Linked DNA regions of Homo sapiens: regions 2, 3 and 4 are each linked to region 1. Evidence: promoter capture Hi-C in 16 types of primary human blood cells and fetal thymus (Javierre and others, 2016). All regions are on one chromosome and are shown on one strand. Each heading gives the region's core, a stretch centred on a gene start or on the middle of the fragment in contact. The rest is flanking DNA. Distances are from core to core; before and after follow the strand shown.

The links. The method cuts DNA at HindIII sites, captures the fragments that hold promoters and counts their contacts. A CHiCAGO score of 5 or more calls a contact.
Region 2: a contact is called between a fragment that was not itself captured here and the fragment with the promoter of DLD in region 1, in 4 of 17 cell types (naive CD8 T cells, activated CD4 T cells, erythroblasts and 1 more). The highest score is 6.1, in naive CD8 T cells.
Region 3: a fragment that was not itself captured here is called in contact with the fragment with the promoter of DLD in region 1 in 2 of 17 cell types (M1 macrophages and M2 macrophages); the score reaches 6.8 in M1 macrophages.
Region 4: a contact is called between a fragment that was not itself captured here and the fragment with the promoter of DLD in region 1, in 1 of 17 cell types (erythroblasts). The highest score is 7.4, in erythroblasts.

What each region holds. Positions count from the first base shown.
Region 1 is chr7:107,889,753-107,892,452 of GRCh38, forward strand. It overlaps DLD (dihydrolipoamide dehydrogenase), which reads left to right and starts at 1,431. Exons shown (of 14, transcript NM_000108.5): 1 at 1,431-1,537. The coding sequence starts at 1,499. RefSeq lists enhancers at 1,132-1,211, 1,169-1,851, 1,362-1,601 and a silencer at 1,662-1,771. The HindIII fragment of the contact is 5,175 bases long and covers 1-2,700 here.
Region 2 is chr7:107,464,973-107,467,672 of GRCh38, forward strand. The region is part of intron 6 of COG5 (component of oligomeric golgi complex 5); the gene reads right to left. Among named protein-coding and RNA genes, the nearest start is that of GPR22, 3.7 kb to the right of the region's middle. The HindIII fragment of the contact is 3,987 bases long and covers 1-2,700 here.
Region 3 is chr7:108,146,004-108,148,703 of GRCh38, forward strand. It overlaps NRCAM (neuronal cell adhesion molecule), which reads right to left. Exons shown (of 33, transcript NM_001037132.4): 33 at 1,646-2,700. Among named protein-coding and RNA genes, the nearest start is that of LAMB4, 17 kb to the left of the region's middle. The HindIII fragment of the contact is 2,194 bases long and covers 202-2,395 here.
Region 4 is chr7:107,603,443-107,606,142 of GRCh38, forward strand. All of the region lies in intron 11 of DUS4L-BCAP29 (DUS4L-BCAP29 readthrough), which reads left to right. The region is part of intron 6 of BCAP29 (B cell receptor associated protein 29); the gene reads left to right. It also overlaps the pseudogene LOC124901856. Among named protein-coding and RNA genes, the nearest start is that of BCAP29, 25 kb to the left of the region's middle. The HindIII fragment of the contact is 848 bases long and covers 1,004-1,851 here.

The DNA.
Region 1 (2,700 bases), core at 181-2,680:
GGAATCTATTTCCTGCCTCACTTCTCATACTGGGTTGAGCCCCTAGGCTTTGTGAATGACAGCTGGAAAGGATGGAAGTGTTTCATTTTTTAAAAATAAAAATATGATATTGTAATTTTGGACAAAGGAGTAGGGAACAAAGCCCAAGAAAGTTCAGGAAAGAATTGTGAGATTTTGTGCATATGGAGCAGTAACTCCTAGACCAGATGTCAAAGACTGCCATGAAGCTGGAGAGGAGACAATTCTCCCCATCTGTGTGGTGGAGGCTGCTCAATGTCCCCCAATTTCGCTTCATCTCATCTTGCTTATTAATACAATTTCAGTTAGGCACTCAGCTGACAGGACTATGTTTCACAGATCCCCTTGCAGCTAGGTGTGGCTTTGTAATCAGATGGAATGAGGGGATATGATTGTAGAAACTGGAGCAGCCATCTTGAATGAAAGATGCAAGGCAAGCTCTGATGATGGCAGAGTCACGAGATAAAAGGAGCCTGGGACCCTGTCACAGGACAGAGCTGCCAGCAATACCGTCTCTATAACAAACACTAAATTTAATTATTCATATCTAAATCTGAACATAGGCAGTAATTTCTAACCAGTGTTTAGCCCAGCACAAGGCCTGGGTGGTAGACTTCCAATAAATGTAGAATTAAGTTTATTCACACTATATAGACTTATTGCAAGGCAAGAATGAGACCTTAGACTTTCGTGCTCAATCTTGAAGACAATGTTTTTCAACCCTTTTCAACAGATTCTCTCTCAAAACCTAAAATCTCATCCACCATCCCACTCTCTTTTTACCAGGGAGATGTGTTTCTCAACTAAAGAAATAGAAGAAAGTGTGTTCTCTACGTATTGTCAGTTAGCTAATTAGAGCAGAATGCTGGTGATGCCAAAATCTGTAGCCCCATCCCTTATATGGCATTTGAGAGGAGCGAGTATAAAGCAGTAGATAATACCAAAGGTTTTGGCCTCAGGGCCGCAGTTATCTCTCCTTTGTGAGACCTTGGGGGCACTGTTTAACCTCTCTGGGTCTCATCCAAGAAATGGAAATACTAATAATACTCCATATGGTTGTTGCAAGGATGAAATGAGATGTCTGTAGGAAGTGCCGAGGAATGCCTAGCACAACCAAGAGCTTGTTGAACTTGTCACGCTTTACTGTCGATAATGTGCATTAAGCAAACGCTAGTTTTATTTGTTTATTTCATCTTCTAAGTATAAGAATACATTGTAGCTCGACATTTTGGCACCAGCCCCTAAAGCATTCCCACCACCACCCCCGCTGCGACAAAGCCCTGCGCTCCTTACGACAGCGTACGACGCCGAGCCTGACAGGAACGCCTCGTGCGGTAGAACCGCGCGGGCCAATCGCGCTGCTCCCGGGTGATGACGTAGGCTGCGCCTGTGCATGCGCAGGGAGGGGAGACCTTGGCGGAGCGGCGGAGGCGCCCAGCGGAGGTGAAAGTATTGGCGGAAAGGAAAATACAGCGGAAAAATGCAGAGCTGGAGTCGTGTGTACTGCTCCTTGGCCAAGGTGAGGGCCGAGTAGGTGAGGTCGTGTTGAGCCAGAGGCACGGAAGGTCCCGCTCAGTGGGTCCGGTACGCGGCTTAACCGTGTTGGGCTGGCGGAGGCGGGCGCCTGGGCCGCACCACCCCTGGCCCCGCCTCTGCACTGGCTCAGCCCGGCCCTGGGCTCCGAGGTGGCCGCTCATCCTGCAGCAGGCGAGGGACGGGGCTGGGCCCAGGCTGTGGCGAGTCCTTTCGGGTTGTGTGACGGCCGGCGGTCACACATGCCACACCCCCAAGCCTGGGCCGAGGGCCATCCCGGTCACACATAGGCCTCTACCTTGGAGGAAGTGTAAGCCACCCATGTCCCGTATAGTCTGGCTTTTTATACCATTTGCCTTTTTCTCATCCTAATTCTGATCCCTGAGTGGCCTAAGTTTATGCAGTGGGCAGGTAACCCTGGGGTCACTTCTTGAATGGTTTAGATCCAGTCAGCTCCAACAGATAGCCCTCGGAATTCCCCTAAGGTCTTGTCAGTGTTGGCAGCTTTCAACTGGTGTTCATTGCCATCTCTCACGACTTCCTGGAGGCTTAAATCTTTAATTGCAGCAGGTTATCAGAACAACTCTCCTTTTTAATCTGCTTACCAGATACAGCCAAATTGTGTGTATGTGGCACCGTGGCTGGGTACTATGTTAGTGGAGACCTTAAAAATAATATAGCGATCAAACCCTTTTGTTTCAGAGATGAGGAACCTGAGTTCTCAAAAGTTAATGTAACATTCTGCAAGTCATGCTTTTAGGGAGCGGCGGAGGTGGGACTGAAACTCAGGATTGTCAATCTGCTGCTTTTTGGGTTTGCTGTCCTGACCTCAAATGTTAAGAGTTGCCTTGGAATAGGAAACATCAGTGTAGGTTTTGTCACTGCCGCCCATTTTCCTGCTGTGAGCAGGGGTTATTTGCTTGCTTGCTTTCTGCCTCATTGCCCTTAGGAAATGGTAGCCGTCCACATATAGAGATTAGGGAGATTATGATGCAATTTGTCAAACTGTAGTAGCACCAGAACGTAAGTACATTACTTGGTGCATTTTCCTAAGTTACCTTGTCTAATTTGCTATTCCTAGTTGATGTCTCAGGAACATCTTCATAGATTGTTCTAAGTAAATACGGACTGTATATACACGCTAGCTTA
Region 2 (2,700 bases), core at 180-2,679, 420 kb before region 1:
ACCCCTTCCTGAGAAATGGATGGAGTAAAGGGTAGTTCTGTTAGGGCTTTGCATTCTCAGCATATCCGGCAAGAATGTTCAGGGATATTCAGGGCTTATGGGGATTGTTTCTCCCAACACACTCCCATTCAACCTAATACCAGAGGTCCTAGGCAGTACAAGAAGGCAAGAATATAAGTAAGTCTCACATGTTTCAGGAAAAAGTAAACTATCTCTATTTGCAGACAATTGTCTATATAGAAAATACCATGGAATTCACACAAAAAACTCCCAAGACTAATATATGAATTTAGTAAAGTTGCAGGATATGAGTTCAATATGATCCTAATTACATATACTAACAATAAACAATTGGATTTTTTTAAAAAATTAGGTGCTACTTCAACAGTACTGAAGAAATAATTAAATACAAATCTAACAAAATATGTGCAGGATCTGTAGGCCAAGAACTACAAAATATTGACGAAATAAATGTAAAATGCCCTAAAAATAGTAGAGATACTATGTTCATAAGTTAGAAGACTCAATACTGTTAAGATGTCATTTCTTTCCAAACTGATCTACAGATTCTCTGCAATACCAATCAAAATAACAGCAGGACTTTTTATAGATATTGCACCCCTAAACAGAGATCAGAAGGTAGGAGTAACTGAAGAAACACTGCTGAATATACCTGGCAGAAAGACACCAGTGATTACAGTCTTTAAGAATTATTAATTAAACTCTTAAAATGCATTCATTTTCCCAAATGGATGACTCAAGTAGTATAGTGGATGTTACTGAGTTTATAGTAGAACTACAGCCTATAGTAAAACTCTGCCATTCTCAGGCTCTTTATATAAAGAATGGCAGCCTTCTTACAAAAATGTTATGTATCTAACTAGTATCAATAACAGAGCACTAGATTGTAGACAGTCAGCTATGTCCCCCAGCACAGCATAAGAGTCATAACAGCACAAAACAGGGGACTTGACACAGCTTTGTTAAATATGTAATCTAGTTGATCAATGGACTTGGCCTCAGGACACAAAATTAATTTGATTCTGCATAACTTAAGAGTAAGAGAATTATGCAAAGAAAAAAAGGAAGCAAGAGAAAAGAGAAATCAATGGGGTGATGGAGCACAAACATGGCTATTTGTGTAGTTCCTTGATGAAAATATAAGAGAAAAACATCAATAAAATCCATAATATTTAGGAAGGCAAAGAGGGATAGTAAGCAGTCAAAACAGTAAACCAGAAAACTGGACATGAAGGTAATAATTTGGACAAAGCCCCAAAGTAGACATGCCAACAGTTGTGCAACAGAGGGAGGATAAATTGTAATAATAGTCACAGGATCCAAAGTGTAGGTATGGATGGAAAAATGGCAAGAAATGCCATGTATTTACTTTTATAATGTATGTGATACTGGCAAATGACTTACAAACACAGTGTGAAAAATAAAAATGAAAAAAACGTAAATGCCCAATTTAGGTGAAGTAGGGAAGGATGGGAAAGAATGGCTTTGGATTTTCTATCTGTTAAGTGTATGCAATTCTGATGCATGTGCTTTATCAAATATAATCAGTATTCAGTTATTCTCATATAGAAAATGAATCACCAATGTTGTTGATTCTCTACGACTTCTGCTACTCCCCACTTGATGGAAGTTCAGCAGATGGTCCATTTCTATTTTTCTGATAAAGTATTTGTTGTGAAAGAAATGTAAAGTTGAGAAGCCAAATAAAATCTCTGAATTGGCATTAAAGCAAAATAAACCTTTTTTCTATGGGCTCCAGTATCAGAGAGAGTTCAAGGTTTACTACGCTAAGTATCCACTGAAAAAGGACCCTTGTCGCAATACAGCTTAAAACTGATTTTCAGCAATTAAAAATTGTTTGTACATAGATACCTTAAAATTGTTTCAAAGTACTTTCAGTTATGGTGAATTCCAATATTTCACAAAGCTGAGTTTTTATTTACAAACTCAGAGAATCTTCAAAACTGTGGCATCAGAACTAGCCACAAGCTGGGTAAGAATGATTTGATATGAATAGTACAATGTAAATATACAATAAATTACTCTGTCATAGTCACGGTTGTCAAAATTTAAGAAAACAAATACATAAAATTAGTTAGAGACTTCCCATAGGAGGAATTAAAACAGATATGCAATTAAAATATTTATAACTAAAAAGAAAAGCACGACTTTTAAAAAAGGATTTTAATTGAGCTGTATTTTGGGGTTAGAATCATATCTAGTGCTTAGTTATTATTAGGAAGTCAAACTGCTCTCCTAGGTTAGTATATAAAGGTTATATTAATTGCACAAAATATATTAAATGCACAAGTGTGAGTGTTACTACGGAAACAAGGATCTTCATAAATTGATAATCTGAAATTATTATTATTTTTTTTTTGAGACCTAGTCTCACCTTGTTGCCCAGGCTGGAGGGGTAGCGGTGCAATCGCAGCTCACTGCAATCTCTGCCACCCAGGTTCAAGCGATTCTCATTCCTCAACCTCGCGAGGAGCTGGACTAGAGGCTTGTGCCACCATGCCTAATTTTTGTATTTTTTGTAGAGACAGGGTTTCACCATGTTGGCCAGACTGGTCTCGAACTCCTGACCTCAAGTGATCCACCCGCCTCAGCCTCCCAAAGTGCTGGGATTACAGGTGAGAGCCACTGCACCCGGTCTGTAATTAATTTTTTTCATGA
Region 3 (2,700 bases), core at 49-2,548, 260 kb after region 1:
TATACCATCACAAAACATCAAACCATTGGCAGATAAAATAGCATACTCTGGAGAAGAGGGAGATGCCATTTTAATGACGTGCCTCTCCTCATCCCTACCGACTTGCAGCCGTGATAGGGATGCTTAGTAGGACCCAGGAGGCACACTCCTCCTTCCTCTCCCAATACCGAACCTCCCGGGCCACAATCATTAAGAGGAAGAAGCTTAACAAGGCTCACAGGGACACATGCTTCCTCCCTGGATGCTGTGGACTCGTCAGAGAAAGCTGCAAATCCCATTTTCCCCTGTTGCAGCAGGCAATCATTTTTTGCATGATCAGATCACAAGCTGATTATCAAAACTGGTTTGCACTGTGTCCAGAGGCCACTTTTTCCTGCAAGCAGGTTTCTCTCACACTGCATAGAGCAGGGGAGCCCTCTGGTGGTAATCTGTAGGAAAATTTCCTGAGCGGGAGGGATTTGCTTAATTTGGGTAAGAATTCTTCATATTCTTTTCCCTTGCCTCCATAAGCCTTTTCCAAAATTGCGGGGCGCGGTGGCTCATACCTCTAATCCCAGCACTTTGGGAGGCCAAGGTGGGTAGGTCACTTGAGGTCAAGAGTTTGAGACCAGCCTGGCCAACATGGCAAAACCCCTGTCTCTACTAAAAATACAAAAATTAGCCGGGCATGGTGGCACACACCTGTAATCCCAGTTACTTGGGAGGCTGAGACACGAGAATTGCTTGAACCAACCCAGGAGGCAGAGGCTGCAGTGAGTGCCTCTGCTCTCCAGCCTGGGTGAGAGAATGAGACTCTGTCTCAAAACAAAACAAAATCAGCCATTAGAGGTAAACCAGGCCTGTTGTAAGCCATCTGAACAAGAAAGTTCATACCATCAATGGACCAATGCTTTTTGGGGTCAAGATTGCATTTCTCCAGACCCTTTTTGCTAAAGAGCCCCAGGACTGATGATGAGGACAAAGCTATGGACTGTGAATTTGGCGGACGTTGTAGAGGGGAGGAGAGGCCCTGAAGTGCTGTTCTGAAGTGAGTGACAGACATGCCCTCCAGGTGGAAACACCAAGCTCTACATAGCACTTTAAGGTTCACTTATATAACATGTGATGCAAATCACCATGGAGGAGGGCAGCTCTGAGCCAGCAGGAGGTCTTGTCAGTGTGATGCTGGGACTAGGGGGCTGGAGAATAAGGGGCAGGTGGTGGAACATGGGAACACGCCAGGGCTTGGCTGTTTGCCAGAGGGTTTGAGAAGATTAGAAGCATGGGGGTGGAGAGAAGGGAGAGGGTGACATACATTCGATACCTGTAGTGTCCCTCTTCAGACAGGAGAGTTAAGAAATCTAAGTCGCCTGTGATTCGGGAGGGCAGAGTCCAGGCAAGCAGAAGAGAAGCGCCGGGCCCAGGCAGACACCAGGAGCCAGGCTTTGGGAAAGGAGGCACCACCTGATTTCTTGAACTTTTCTCAAAAGGCTGGGAATATCTAGTCCTGTTTTTCATTCAAATGTTTTTGATATGTCCTATTAGATCTGTTTTATATTTTGTTTTAATTTTCTCTGCATAGAACAGCCTTTTGAAAGTAAAAAATAAAATTTTTCACCATTTTAAAACATTAGGCAATATATGTTTGAAAAAGTTAAAAGTCACAAAGAGATCAAGACTGTTTAATAGTTACTTTTTTGAGGGAAATCCAGTCACATTTGCCTGTACCATTACATACACCATTACTTGGACATTCACACTCAATTGGGAACATAAATTACAAAAGAGAGAGGAACTTTTAAAACCACATTTAATTTTTAATACCAAATCTGTTGCACTATTACAGAAGTGACCCTTTCATGCACAGATAAATTTCGCATCTACCAGTATGGAAGAGGAAAAAATGTAGTTTTATTGTTCTCCCAAAATATTGGCAAATTTAAAGTAACTTTTAATCTTTGTGCTCTCTGATGCCAAGGCAAACCTGTTTTGTCTTTTTATATTTTCAAGAGACAGGTGGATCTGTGAAAAATGAATATAGAGACATGAAAGTATTTAGGGCCATCTTTACCTGGGATTACTTTAAATTATGCTTTACCTACATATATCAAACATGCCAGGTTACTAGGCCTACTGTGCCCCATAGGCAAAGCTCTGAAGATTTCATCGAAAAATCTGCTGTCAATACGTAGAAAAGTTCACTATTTCAGTTTCACAGCAAAAAAGGTGGGGGGAGGGGGGAACCCAATAGATATTTAAGTAGATGCTTTCCAATCCCATTCACTGCATTAATTAGCTTACCTCTTATACAGTACAACATAAACATTGCATGTTTATTTGTATGTAACACCTATAAGCATATAGCATCTACATTTTAAGTGTATTTACAAATTCAACAAAATATCTACATATAAAAAGCTTTACTTAAAATTAAACTTGATGCAAGTTATGAGAAACCAATTTATTGGCAAATGAAACTGAGCATTCCTTCAACCATAGGTTGTTATAGATTTTCATATTTGGAGGTAACCCATTTGATAGATATTGTTTATGAATACGATAGAATATATATTTACTTTTTAAACTGCAGATGTAATCCCTTGGACCGTTGGCCTTTTAAGCACTTGCCTGATTTCTTAGATTCTGAAATGTATCCATAACAATTTGCATACACGTTGTTTAATGCTGCAGAGTTTTGAACACTTACATAGGTAAAGTCTT
Region 4 (2,700 bases), core at 178-2,677, 290 kb before region 1:
GGAATTCTTAGGGCTTGCCAATCTTGTAGTAAAGGTTGAATTAGCAGTATATGTCTTCTACATAAAGGAAAAGAGAAAACAGTAATTGGGGGAAATTTCTTGACCATGCCTTTCTTCTGTTTGTTCCTGCTTTCCTTTGTTCCTTCTTTGTTTCATCAGCAATTTTTTTTTTTTTTTTTTTTTGAGACAGAGTCTCACTGTCACCCAGGTGGGAGTGCAGTGGTGCAGTCTTGGCTTACTGCAACCTCGAACTCCTGGACTCAGGAGATCCTCCCGCCTCAGCCTCCTGAGTAGCTGGGACTACATGTGTGCACCACCATGCCCGCCTAATTTTTTTGATTTTTTGTAAAGACAGGGTCTCGCTTTGCTACTTAGTCTGGTCTTGAACTTCTGGCTTCAAGCCCTTCCTCCTCAGCCTCCAAAAACGCTGGGATTACAGGCATGAACTGCTGTGCCTGGGCCTCAGCAATTTTTAAAAGAACTTTTCAAGTAATTCAGTCGTTGTAAAGTCATTTAATGTGGAGCATAATTAACACTTTCCTTAAAAAGTGTGCCTCTTGAGGATAAAGCAAACTTTAAATAAATTTCTTAAAGCATATACTAACAATCAGAAACTGAGTGTAAAGACCTATTATGGGTACCTAAGTATTAGCAGCACGCAATAGAGATACTAGATTTGGACCAGGAAACAGAACCCTTAGTCCCCTACTTAAAATAATGATAATTCAACTCTCTTCCTGGATAAATGCTTTCATATCACCTTGACTTACGTTGAACAAAACTAAAATTACCTTTTGCAGACCAACTTTGATACCCTTGAAGATGTTAAGTTTTTTTTACTTTTTATTGCCAGTTAACATAGGGACCAGATAGTGAAAAATAGCTGAAGTGTTTTTCCAGAGAAATTGGAGATCAAGACAAGATAGAAAATTACAGGGGAATTGCTGATCTGTATACCCAAAACCCTAAATTCCTGCCTCTTCAGTGTTAAGAATAAGACATAAGCTTTGTATACAAGTTTAAAACCATATGATTTCCAGTTTCTTACAAATGAACCATATATTCATCTAAAAATAAATTCTAAGTTTACCCTAAGCATGTTTTACAGTTGTAAATTTTTGTGGACGTGAACTTAGTTATCTTTTACTTACAGTTATATCAAAGCCCCCAGCTTATTTTAAAATTATTAATGCTTAAAAACAGTTTGCTGTTTTTAGTCATTTTGTTGTTGTTGTTGTTGTTGTTTTTTTTTTTTTGCTTTGTTGCCTTTTAATGCACTTTTGTGATTTAAATAAGAAAAAAACATATTATTTGTTTTCATGTCTGGAAGTTTCTGTTTCTTTGACACCTTTGTCCCTTCTTGTATCAACTGAAAAAAAAAACTGCATTAAGAAAGAATAATATAGTTTATTTGATGGTTGTGCCAGTAGGCAATATATAATTAATAGTATTTTAATTATTTAAAGTAAATAAAACTCATGACCAATCCTTTTAGTTAGGTAAATAAAGGATTTATTAGTATTTATTAGTTCATCTCTGTGTTATCTTCACATATTGATGTTATTGTCAAAACAGAAAAAAGGGTTTGCTTGCTATCAGAGTACTTTTCTTGGACTAATATATAATGATGATATTGCATCCTGTTTGGTTCCCTGTTACATTCCCATTTAGTTGTGATGTTTCCCTTTCTTGTGAGCTTCTTATCTGTTATCAAGGCCTATACTCATAAACTATGTGTCTTTCAGTAACCAGGAGGAATAGCTATAGGGAAGATATTAAGACAGAAATTCAAAGATACCTTATATATTATTCACAGTACTAGCAAACATAACGATATCTACCCTGAGGAGAAGCTTTTATAATCTCCACAGAGGGACATTAAAGCAAGAGAAAACAGTTTGTTCTCAGAAGAGCTTGTAGTCCAGATGGTAAACCAAACATATGTCCATAAAGGGATTCATTTCCTCCCCAGTGTGAAACATGGGCTAGTCTACCAAAAACATGAGTGGAGAGTGCTAAATGCATACTGAATCAAGGAATGTTCCAGGTGTTAAAGATGTAATCAAGCACAATTCTCTAAATGTGTTGATGGACATAGAATGGCAGAAAAATGAGTGAAATGATACTACTGTTCTGAGTGAGAAGAGCAAAGCAAAAAGCAGAGTGGTCTGTTTGAAGTCGATGTGTCACACTAGGTGCAGTGAATGATTGTGCTGTATGGTTGAGGGGTCCATTGATGTAGCCCCTAAAAGATCGAAGGAGATAATTACTTTGAATGCCTTGGTGTTCTTTTCTACTGTCTTATTCCATACCTAGATATGCATGTTTACTACAATCCTTCATGGTAAATACTTTTCTAATGATATCAGCTTATGGCAGGTTCATGTTTATGGCCAAGTGAGTTACAAAAATTAAACTGTACAACTCTAGTTTTAAAACACTTTCAATTAGGAAAAAACACTAAACTATTAATAGTGGTTTTCCTTAGCATGTACAACAAATGACTTTTTCCTAGAGTTTAAATTATTTTCTACAATGAATTTCTTTTGCTTAATGAAAAAGATAGCTTTTTATTGTAAAAAGAATTTAAAAATAAAAATAAAAAACCTCTTCCAAATACCCAGGTAATCTAGGGCGGTAGTTTTTTGGCTTGAATTATCTAATTAATTGGCTGTATTCCAACTTTACTTTGTTGGTAGA